Regions from separate parts of the Homo sapiens genome. Here region 1 is linked to region 2. The links are contacts of gene promoters, found by promoter capture Hi-C in human tissues and cell types (Jung and others, 2019). All regions are on one chromosome and are shown on one strand. The core of a region is centred on a gene start or on the middle of the fragment in contact, and the rest is flanking DNA. Distances in the headings are between cores, read along the strand shown. Region 1 overlaps SLC25A37 (solute carrier family 25 member 37). Region 2 holds the start of NKX3-1 (NK3 homeobox 1).

The links. Contacts are between HindIII fragments. The study calls those that stand out against the background at their distance.
Region 1: a fragment that was not itself captured here is called in contact with the fragment with the promoter of NKX3-1 in region 2 in 8 of the 25 tissues and cell types used here (H1 embryonic stem cells, IMR-90 fibroblasts, aorta and 5 more).

Annotation. Positions count from the first base shown.
Region 1 is chr8:23,540,350-23,546,229 of GRCh38, forward strand. All of the region lies in intron 1 of SLC25A37 (solute carrier family 25 member 37), which reads left to right. Among named protein-coding and RNA genes, the nearest start is that of SLC25A37, 14 kb to the left of the region's middle. RefSeq lists an enhancer at 1,922-2,703. The HindIII fragment of the contact is 7,289 bases long and covers 1-5,834 here.
Region 2 is chr8:23,681,108-23,687,050 of GRCh38, forward strand. It overlaps NKX3-1 (NK3 homeobox 1), which reads right to left and starts at 1,831. Exons shown (of 2, transcript NM_006167.4): 1 at 1,497-1,831; 2 at 1-532. The coding sequence starts at 1,782. The coding sequence ends at 114. All of the region lies in intron 3 of LOC107986930 (a long non-coding RNA gene), which reads left to right. RefSeq lists silencers at 1,413-1,462, 1,503-2,012. The HindIII fragment of the contact is 20,085 bases long and covers 1-5,943 here.

The sequences.
Region 1 (5,880 bases), core at 940-3,439, 140 kb before region 2:
GAATATGAGAAAGGGCTGAGATTGATGATGGGGCCCAGCTGCATTGTTGGGATGGAGGAACCAGAGTTGAGTCGAGGGAGTAACTCCAGGAAATCATGGCACCCAGAAAGTGTGGCACAGAATGCAGGGCTCTAACGTATAGTTAGGAGTTCTTTGGGCAAGTACTCCAGCAAGCAAGGAAGAAGGATGATGACATATGGTTATTGCCACAGGATATTTTTGGCTGCGTCTGGCTTCTCTCTCTGAAACAAATTGCAGTTGCTGTGACACCTTCTCATTTCAGCAGTGAGTCGAAGTTGCACTCAATATAGTGTTTTGAATTCGGACTAGTCGTGAAGATTCCTTTCCAGATCATAGTATATGTATATAAGTCACTTACTGGGAAGAGCACTACATCATAGTTCCGTGGTCCACTAAGGCTGCAGTTTTCTTATCTGAAATAAGGAGGGGTAACGGTGCCCATCCTGCCTCCCCTGGCAGGTCCGCTTACGCATGTAGTGAGAAAATACAGGCAGGCTTGCAGGGAACACCGCTTTAAAAGTATAAAGCTCTCTGTGCAGGTGCTAGGTCATGGTATTTATTATCACACTGGGATCCTGTGGGAGGGGTAAGGTTAGCTCATTGGAATGGAAAATCCAGGCTCTCATTCCAGCACTAGGACTCAGTGCAGCTGCCTGGCCTTGGGCACTTAACCTCTCTCCTTACAGTGTCTCCCATCTGTTGAGCCAAGACAGGGTGGCTGTCTGCTGCCGCCCATTTGGCTGGCTAATGAGGAAGAGCCAGTGCTGCTCACAGCATGCTCATTTCGTGGTAATGTAGACAGGGGATAGTAGTGGCTGCGTGTAGCAGAAACCAGCAGGGTAGGACCGGATGAGCCCACCTTCAGGGAGGTGTACCCAGGGCTGTTAGTTTGAGGACGTCTGTGGGATTTTATATCCTTACTCTTATTTTCCAAGAAAGTCTGTCCCTTTGAGCACCAGGCAGATGAGTCTGGGGACGCTGTGAGGAGGGGTCCCCCAGGAGCAGGAAGGTGACTAATGATCCCGGAAGAATGACTGTGTGTGTTTGCAGACGCCTGGGCTCTTCCCCAGTTTGGCCTTTCCCGTCACTGTTTTCCTCACTTGCTTAAGAGGAGAAGGAGGTAACGCACACAAGTGCCTTTGTCTCAGGGTCCCCACGGTGCCCATCTTGAGGGTTTTGCGGGCGCCTTGCATTGCCTAAGGCCTGGCTTTAGAAGCAGAACATGGAGAGAGAGGTTTGCAGCCTGCAGGAAGCTGGCCAGCCAGACCTGCCGGGCAGCGGGACCCGCGGGCAGTGCCTCTGACTCACGGCACGTCCTTGATACGCAGTGCTCCCCTCCCCACTTTCTCTGCCCTCCTGTGGATCACGGGTGTCCTAGGGCTGTTGGGAGCCTGGATTAAAGTTGCTGAGTGGCCGGCTGATGATCAGATCCAGGGAGTCAGACCAGAGGTGGGGACATCTTTTCAAAGGCAAGAAGATGCTGCCAGTGCGTGTATATACATATGAGGGTGGAAGGGGTAAACCCAGGGTGTGTCTTTAACTGAAGAATCAAGAAAGCTGCTTTCCTTAGTCACCCGCCTCTGTGGTTCGTTTGCTAAACGTTGGCTTGCGTTAGCCTGATTCACAGTAATGTGGCTCCCAAGGAAGATTCACATGGTATTTGTGAAAATGTAGCTTCATCCCCTGCCCTTCATTGAATGACTGAATTACAGTCAGCACCACATAACGATGTTTCGGTCAACTATGGACTCCATATGTGATGAGACAGTGATCCCATAGATTATAGTGGAGCTGAAAAATTCCTATTACCTAGGGGCATCACAACGCATTGCATTTCGCCCGTGTTTGGGATGATGCTGGTGTAAACCTACTATGCTGCCAGTCATGTAAAAGTATAGCACACACAATTAGTAGGTAATGCTTGCAAATAATAATGAAAGACTCTGCTACTGGTTTATGTATTTACTATGCTATACTTTTTGTCATTACTTTAGAGTGTACTCCTACTTTTTTTTTTTTTTTTTTGAGATGGAGTTTCACTCTTGTCCTGTAGGCTGGAGCGAAGTGGCGCGATCTCGGCTTACTGCAACCTCCACCTCCTGGGTTCAAGCGATTCTCCTGCCTCAGCTTCCCAGAGTAGCTGAGATTACAGGCATGCACCGCCACGCACGGCTAATTTTGTATTTTTGGTAGAGACAGGGTTTCACCATGTTGGCCAGGCTGGTCACCAACTCCTGACCTCAGGTGACCCGCCCTCCTCAGCCTCCCAGAGTGTTGGGATTACAGGTGTGAGCCACCGCCCCTGGCCTTTTTTTTTTTTTTTTTTTTAAGTTAATTGTAAAAGAGCCTCAGGCAGGTCCTTCAGGAGGGATTCCAGAAGAAGGCATTGCGATCACAGGAGGTGCCAGCTGCATTGGGACAAGATGTGGAGGTGGAAGACAGTGATATTGATGATCCTGACCCTCTGTAAGCCTAGGCTAATGTGTATGTTTAAGAAAAAAGTTTAAAAAGTAAAAAAATAAAAAATGTTAAAAGGAAAAGCTTATAGAATAAGGATATAGAGAAAAAATATTTTTTGTAGAGCTGTACAATGTGTTTTGTGTTTTAAGCCAAGTGTTATTACAAGAGTCAAAAAGTCAAAAAATTGAAATTTATAAAACAAAAACATTACAGTAAGCTAAATGTAACTAATTAATTTTATTTATTTTTTTTTTTAGAGACAGGGTCTTGCCTTGTCGCCTAGGCTGGAGTGCAGTGTTGAGATCATAGTTTACTGCAGCCTCGAACTCCTGGGTACAAGGAATCCTCCCTCCTCAGCCTCCTGAGTAGCTGGGATTACAGGTGCGCACCACCACACAGCTAATTTTTAAATTGGTGTAGTGAAGGAGTTTCGCAATGTTGGCCAGGTGGTCTCAAGCTCTTGGCCTCAAGCAGTCCTCCTGCCTCGACCTCCCAAAGTGCTAGGATTACAGGTATGAGTCACCACGCCCAACCTTGAAATTTAATTTATTATGGAAGAAAGCAAAAGTTTAAAAAATAAATTTAGTGTAGCCTAAGTGTACAGTGTTTTTAAAGTCTACGGTAGTGCACAGGAATGTCCCAGGCCTTCACATTTACTCACCACCACTCACTTAAACTCACCCAGAGCAACTTCCAGTTCTGCAGGCTCCATTCATGGTAAATGCCCTACACAGGTGTACCATTAAAAAAAATCTTTTGGCTGGTTGTGATGGCTCATGCCTGTAATCCCATCTCCTGGCTTCATGCCATTCTCCTTCCCCAGCTTCCCGAGTTGCTGGGACTACAGGCGCCTGCCACCACGCCCAGCTAAATTTTGTATTTTTAGTAGAGATGGGGTTTCGCTGTGTTAGCCAGTATGGTCTCGATCTCCTGACCTTGTTTTGATCTGCTTGCCTCGGCCTCCCAAGATGCTGGGATTACAGGCGTGAGCCACTGCGCCCAGCAAAAAACGATGTGGTATTTTCACTGTACTTTTTTTTTGTTATTGAGACGGAGTTTCACTTTTGTTGCCCAGGCTGGAATGCAGTGGCAGAATCTCGGCTCACCGCAACCTCTGCCTACCGGGTTCAAGCAATTCTCCTGCCTCAGCCTCCCGAGTAGATGGGATTACAGGTGTGTGCCACCACGCCCGGCTAATTTTGTATTTTTAGTAGCGATGGGGTTTCACCATGTTGGCCAGGCTGGTCTCGAACTCCCAACCTCAAGTGATCCACCTGCCCTAGCCTCCCAAAGTGCTGGGATTACAGTTGTGAGTCACCGCGCCCAGCCTTCACTGTACTTTTGGTATATTTAGATTCATTTAGATAACAAATACCATGGTATTCCAGTTGCCTGCAGTATTCAGTACAGTAGCATGCTGTACAGGTTTGTAGCCTAGGAGCAACACACTATAGCGTACAGCCTAGGTGTGCGGTAGCTATCCCCTCTCAATTTGTGTAAGTACACTCTGTGATGTTCACAGAAGGATGAAGTCACCTAACAATGCATATCTCAGAACATATCCCCGTCATTTGCGATGCGTGACTGTAATTAAGGAATGGGGCCTATGGGGTATGACTGTGGGTGCTGGGCACTAAGGAGACGGAGGCTTGACACAACCCAGGCATTCCCCATGGGAGCCCCTCTGTGGCAGGAAGGACAGATCTCCAATGAATCATTCCTTTCAGGAGTGATGAGCTCAGTCTTCAGGGATCCTGCACCTCACGGGGAGGAGTTGGGAAAGGCCCCCCGAGGAAGGAATATCTCAGTATCTCTATCTAGACCTGAAGGAGATGTGGATGTTACAACTAAACTGTATGATTCTCTGTGTCCCTGAGAACATCACAGCCTATTTCCAAGGTGCCTGGCCATCCCCAGGGTGCCTGCATGCCACTGACACTCTAATCTGGGGTTCTGCTCTGAGCTGAGAAAGTGTCTGTGGTTTGGGGTCATCAGGTGGCAGCTCTTCTCCTCTCTGTTCTGAAATCTTAATTCCCTGTTTGACTGCCTGGTGGCTTTCAGAGAAGCCCAGCCTCCTCCCAGGTGGGAACTTTCACTGTCGAACTAAGGACCCGAGGAGGGTGGAAACAGGAGGAAGGGAGGCTAAGCGGTCACATCAGAGGCATTTCTGCTCATCGTTGGCTCATAATAGGTGGCAGTAGGGGCTGGTGGAGCAGTGGCCAGGTAAGTTGCTAAAAATAAAACATGCTCATGTGACGTGTGCAGGTTTAGGGTTTGCCTGAGTGAGCTTTCCTGGTCCAGGTCACAACTTGTAGGGCAAAGAGAGACTTGAGGATGGTGTAGGCGACAACTGTGCCTTCCAAAGGTCAGAGATGGACCTGGGATCTTGTAGTACCAGGGCCTGCTCTGGAGGCTCAGATTCGTGTGTCACTTCTTGTCTCTTTTGAAAGGTAACTGGAGAGCTGGACACTTTCCTGTCCTCTCTCTTTCCTTGTAGCCTTCCTCTCTCAGAGATGGCCTGCTATCAAATGCCAGGGGCACAGTCAGCTGGGCTTGGTAAAGGGCCTGAGATGAGAGCTTGGGGACTTTCCCACTGGAGTCCATGATAGTCCAGGGTGTAGACAGAAGCTCTTGGATCTCACAGCTTTGGAAACCGAGTCCTGTTTCTCCAACAGGCCAGTGCGGTGACGGGCACAGACCTGCTGTCCTCTCTATTTGTGTGTCCACTGATTCCCTGGCACAGGGGGTCTTTGTTACAAAATCTCTTTGCTGGGTGCTTTGAAGGAGCACGTGTGTGGGCCTTTTTCAGGGTGGTTAGACAATGCCAAGCTGTCACTCAGAAGAAATGGTCAGGATAGAAGCATAGAAAATGCCCTGTGGAAATGTAGATGAGTGTTCTGGCTCACACCTGTAATCCCAGCTACTCAGGAGGCTGAGGCAGGGGGATTGCTGGCGGACAGCAGTTCGAGACCAGCCTTGGCAACGGAGCAAGACCCTAACTCTAAAAATAAAAATAAAAAAATAGGCCGGGCGCGGTGGCTCATGCCTGTAATTCCAGCACTTTGTGAGGCCAAGACGGGTGGATCACGAGGTCAGAAGTTTGAGACCAGCCTGGCCAACATGGTGAAACCCCGTCTCAACTAAAAATACAAAAATTAGCTGGGTGTGGTAGCAGATGCCTATAATCTCAGCTACTTGAGAGGCTGAGGCGGGAGAATCACTTGAACCCGGGAGGCAGAGGTTGCATTGAGCTGAGATCATGCCATTGCACTCCAGGCCGGGCAACAAGAGCAAGACTCTGTCTCAAGAAAAAAAAAAAAATTGGTTTTGTGTGGTGGTGCACACCTGTAGTCCCAGCTACTCAGGAGGCTGAGGTGGGAAGATTGCTTGAGCCCAGGA
Region 2 (5,943 bases), core at 581-3,080:
AATAGCTTTGGTGTGCACACCTCTTGCTCCCTGACCTTGGCCCCTTGTGCTTTTCATAGAGACACCCTGGGGAAGGCAGTTTTTGATCATAATGGTTGTCACCTGAGCTGGCATTACCAAAAAGCTGGGCTCCAGCTGCCCACGCAGTACAGGTATGGGTAGTAAGGATAGCTGTTATACACGGAGACCAGGGAGGCCCGGGAGAAGGCCTCCTCTTTCAGGGCCGGCAAAGAGGAGTGCTTCTCCAAGTCTCCCAGCTCCGAGGAGAGCTGCTTTCGCTTAGTCTTATAGCGTCTGTTCTGGAACCATATCTTCACTTGGGTCTCCGTGAGCTTGAGGTTCTTGGCCAGGTGGGCCCGTTCAGGGGCCGACAGGTACTTCTGATGGCTGAACTTCCTCTCCAACTCGATCACCTGAGTGTGGGAGAAGGCAGCTCGGGAGCGCTTCTGCGGCTGCTTAGGGGTTTGGGGAAGCCTTGGAAGGGCGCCTGAAGTGTTTTCAGAGTCCAACAGATAAGACCCCAAGTGCCTTTCTGGAAAGGAGAGTGGGGAAGGAGGGATGGGAAGACAAAAGTTACATGTTAGCAGGGAAGAGAACAGAATTCAATCCACCCTTATCTCTTTAGTGAGTGAACAAACAGCCCACTGTCATCGTGGATACATTTCACTTTTTTCACATGACTAAGGAGCTCTCCGGAGTGAAGAGTGAGTAAATATGTTTATTACGCATTCATTTGCTAAGAATCATCAAGAACCCAAAGTTAGAGACGTTTCGTGGTTGAACTTTCTCCCTACTGTCTAGTAGAATTATATGGGGATTCTGGATCTGTGTGCTGAGGAGAGGCGGGAGAGGGAGGCAGGGAAAATGCCGTGGAACAAGATACCCGGGAAGGCCAGACCAAAAGACATCCGGTGTTAGGATCCAGGTGGGCAAGAGAGGGCTTGTGCCACTGGAGACGCAGAGGCAGGCTCATTCTGGGCTTTAATTCCCTCTTCGCTAAACGAGGCGTTCGGTCGCCTCATCAGAAGTGACAGGAAAGAAAATAAGTGGACTCTCTCTCCTGGACACCGGAGGGAACCCCGAATATACCGCTTTACTGCCCACGGGATTGGGAAGCACACGGAGGCTTTGCTGGTCAACCCCTGCTTTGTCACTGTTAATAAGTTATTATTAGTTCTCATAACTACCGGGGGGCTGGCGCCGATCGCGGGTGGCGCGGGGCGGGATCCGCTCCTGGGACGGTGGAGGGCGGTGGCGCTGCAGTCGCGCCGGCTTCTGAGCCCCAGGGAGCGGAGGGCACGGAGCCGGGCGAGTCCTGCGGTGTCAGAATCCTGCGCCGCCCTGACGCTGGGGCTCAGGGTTCATTCCGGGGGCGCGCGCGTGGCTGCGGAGGCGGGAAGGTCCCTCTGCCTGTCGCCGCGGAGCCCCGCGTCCCTGCACCCCGAGCTCTGGGGGTCCGCCTTGGGCTGCCCCCCTTCCCCGGCCTCGCCGCTTACCTGGCTCGGTCTCTGCCAGCGTCTCGGCCTCCTCCGGCGCGGCGCGGGGCCCGGTGCTCAGCTGGTCGTTCTGCGCCCCGGCGCGGCTGCGTCCTCCCTCTGGCTCTGGCTCTGGCTCCGGCTCCGGGTCGCGCTGTCTCTGGCTGCTCGTGCGGCCGCCTTGCCGCTGCGCGCCGTCCCGCAGGATGTCCTGGATGAGGAAGGACGTGAGCGGCTTGGACGGGGTCGGCGGCGCGGCCCCCTCCGCTTTCGCCTCCCCGGGCCGCGGCTCCGGAACCCTGAGCATCCCGGCGGCCCCGCCTTGGCCTGAATGCACCCGCCCGGCCCGCACCGCTTTCACTTTCCGCCTCCCGGCTCGCTTATAGCCCAGGGGAGCGGGCCGCGCCGCCCTCCCATTGGCCGCGGGACGGGCCGCGCCGCGGATTGGCCGCCCTGAGCCCCAGGTGACCCCGCCGATCTGCGAGCCCTGAGCACTGCCCCGCTCCGCTCCTCCCTAGGGGATTCCTTCCCCAGTTCCCTCTCCTTCCCCAATTCCCTCTCCTTCCCCAATTTCCTCTCCTTCTCCAGCTCTCCTCCCTCCGCCCTGAGCCGTTTTCCCAGGCCAGGAGCGCACCCCAAAGCGGGGCTCCTCTGCCCCAACCCACCCGCAACAGAGAGAAGCTCCTGGGGATGGGACGATCAAGACAAACAGTCCAGTTAGCTCTTCAGGACCGTCAGAGCCAATTACAGGGGATGAGCACGCAGTCACTGCAGCCGCGCGGTACCGTGAGAGTTCTGGGTGCTCTCTCTCTCTGGGAGAGATGGTGCAAACTCAGATCTGCAATATCTACGACCTCAAAGAGGCATGACAAGTAGGTGCAGCCAGACCCCAGGCTGAAAGAAGGAAAACACCTTTGCCAAAGCCTTTTCCCGTTGCAGAAGTGGTTTTCTTTGGTGGTTCCTTTATCCGCAATAACCTGTTAACTTTCCTTCCTCCCCAGACACATGACATACCATCCTTTTGAAAAGTTTCCAGACGGATGGAAGGCGTTTTAGGCCAGGACAAATGCAAAAACTGCATTTAAAAAAGTAGTTCAAAAGAACATCAGCATACTCTTTTTGCAGATTACCAACTGTTAACATGTAACCCATTGGCTAAACAATGGGTTAGCCAGATTGGTCCAACCGGTACTGTGACTGGACTGGACGGTACCGTGACAACAGACGAAAGTGGAACAGAGATGATGGAAGTATTTTCTTTCCTTGTCTTTTCTCTTCTTTTTTTTACGGACAGGGTCTCCCTCTGCCGCCCAGGCTGGAGTGCAGTGATGCCATCATAACTCACTGCAGCCTCGATTTCCTGGATTCAAGTGATCCTCCTGCCTTGGCCTCTCAAAGTGCCAGGACTACAGGCATGAGTCTCAGTGTCAGGTCGATGATGGAAGTATTGAATTAATGTTAAATTTACTGAAATTGCACATTGTACTGTCAGTGTACAAGAGAATATTTTTAGGAAATAAACACTGAAGTAAGTAGGAGCAAAGGCACAAGATTTATGAAACTTACATCAAATGGTTCTGAAACAAGGATGCAGATTGATAGATCCCACGCCATAAAGCCGATGGGTTAAATGGTAACAGTTGGTAATCTGGAAAAAGGGTAGGCTGATGTTTTTTAGAACCATTTTTTTAATGCAACTTTTTTGTCTGTCCTGGTCTAAGACGGCTTCTATTCAACTGGCAACTTTTCAAAAGGATGGTATGTCATGTGTCTCTGGAGGAAGGAAAGTTAATAGGTTATTGCTGATAAAGCGACCGCCAAAGAAAACTACCTGTGCAACGGGAAAGACTTTGGCAAAGCTGGTTTTCTTCTCTCATCTTTTCAAAGTCTCTTTATATTAGAACATTCTTTAATGTTTTCTTTTGAATCATTGTAGATTCACAGGAAGTTGCAAAAATAATACCTCCAGTGTCCTCCAAAGACATCTATACAACTGTAGGACAATGTAGAAAACAGGAAATTTACGTTGGGACATTACAGTTAACTAGACTACAGACGTCATTTATTTATTTATTTAGAGATAGGGTCTTGCTCTGTTGCCCAGGCTGGAGTGCAGTGGAGAGATCATGGCTCACTGCAACTTCAACCTCCTGGGCTCAGGAGATTCTCCCACCTCAGCCTCCTGAATAGCTGGGACTACAGGTGTGTGCCACCCTGCCCAGTTAATTTTTGTAGTTTTTGTAAAGATAAGGTTTCACCCTGTTGCCCAGGCTGGTCTCAAAGCCCTGGGCTCAAACAATCCTTCCGCCTCCACCACCCAAAGTGCTGAGACTACAGGTGTGAGCCACTGTGCTGGGCCTTATTGTGGTTTAAATTTTTAATTTGCATTTCACAAATGCCTAGAGATGTTGAATACCTTGTCATGTGCTTGTTTGCCATCCATATTTCCTCTTTGGTGAAATATCTGTTCAAGCCTTTTGCTCATATTATAATTGAATTTTTCTTTCTTTTATTTTTTAACCATTGAGTTATGATAGTTCTTTATATATTGCTGTTTGTAAGTCTTTGTTTGGTAGGTTATTTGCAAATATTATCTCCCAGTCTGTAGCTTGTGTTTCCATCCCTCTAACAGGATCTTCAACAGAACAAAAGATTTTAATTTCATTGAAGATCAATTTATGAATTTTTGAATTTTACAGAATGTGATTTTGATGTCCTGCCTAAGAACTCTTTGTTTAGTCCTAATACTGAAGATTTGCTCCTATGTTATCTTCTAAAAGTTTTATGCTTTACTCTTCAATCCATGATTCCTTCAGAATTAATTTTTGTATATAGTGTGAGGTTTAGATTGAGATGGCCTCCTTTTATTTCTAAAATTGAGAGTTGGGTATGAATTATTTAATAACAAGTGCTGCCATTTGGAAAAGATAAAGTCCTATTCTTATGACAAAATAAATTCCAGACAGCTCAAAGATGTAAAACACAAACGAGCACGTGAAAAAAATATTTTAACTACACTTCATCAGTGAAGGAATGCAAATCAAAATCACATTGAGACGAGCCTTTTCCACCTTTCAGATTGACAAAGGTTAAAAAAAATGGATAATGTCCAGTGTAAGTGAGAGTGTGGAGGAACAGCTGCTCTCATACAGCCATGCACTGCATCGTGACGTTTGATCAGTGACAGACAGCATATATGACGGTGGTTCCATAAGGTTATGATACTGTATTTTTACTGTACCTTTTTATGTTTAGATATGTTTACATGCACAAATTCTTACCATTGTATTACCTTTGCTTACAGTATTCAGTACAGTAACATGCTGTACATGTCTGTAGCCTAGGAGCAATAGGGCATACCATGTAGCCTAGGTGTGTAGTAGACTACATCCATCTAAGTTTGTGTAAGTAGCTCTATGATGTTTGCACAGCAATGAAATTGCCTAACATTGCATCTCTCAGAACATATTCTTGTCCCTAAGGATGCATGACTGTTTTTGGATGACAACTTGGGAATATTTGTCAAAATTAAAACTGAGCATATCCTTTGACACAGCTATTCTGTGTTTGGCAATGTGCCCTAGAAGTGCACAAATACACAATGTATTGACTTGGGAACATATCTTCAATTTGGTCAGAGACTGGTTCAAGCTGCAAAGCATGTTATAGATGAAACCCATTGTATAAAACAGCACTATAAGTTACCTATATAATGTTTTTCATTTGAACACTTTAACATACAGAATATATCAGGAACAAGATTTATACATATGTATTCTTTTTTTCCATAGAGTAGTTACCTCTGCTCAGTGAGATGGAGACAGTAGGTTGGGAGAGGGACAGGAGGATAGTGGAACAGGGTGTATTTCCTTGTACTCATTGATAATTTTAAAAAATGAAAAATATCAAGTTGGAGCTGAGCCTGGACTGCCCTCCTCCACCGCGTCCTCCTCAGGCCTGTGAGTGGGGCCACAGCTCGTGGTCCTCGGCCTCACCTCACTGCATCTTTTCTCCCCTTGTGCTTTGTATTTGGGGGTGTGGATGGCTCATCTTCTTTATGAGACTATGAGCTCCCTGAGAAGGGACTGTATCCTCCTCATATTTGTACCATCTCTAAAGTCTGGCTTAGTTCTCGGCATACAGAAGGCGCTCCATAAGTGCTTGCTGGCTCAATGTCCAGCTCCAGTTGTTATGACACATCTCACTGGCTAGCGGAATTATCCATAAGGGGCCAAAGGACCCCCAGGCAAATCACAGTGGAAGGCTCGTCCTCCTCCCCTTGCTGTGTTTATGCAGTTTAAACCGGGTGAAAATGTGCAAGGCAATCTGGAGACACTCAGGGGCTGCAGCCCAGAACAATGCCCCCTTCCAGCGATGACCAACCCCTAGTCCCCAGATTCTGTGAATATGCTATGTAAATAGACAGCGAAAGTTAATGCTGCAGATGGAATTAGGTTTGCTGGTCCGC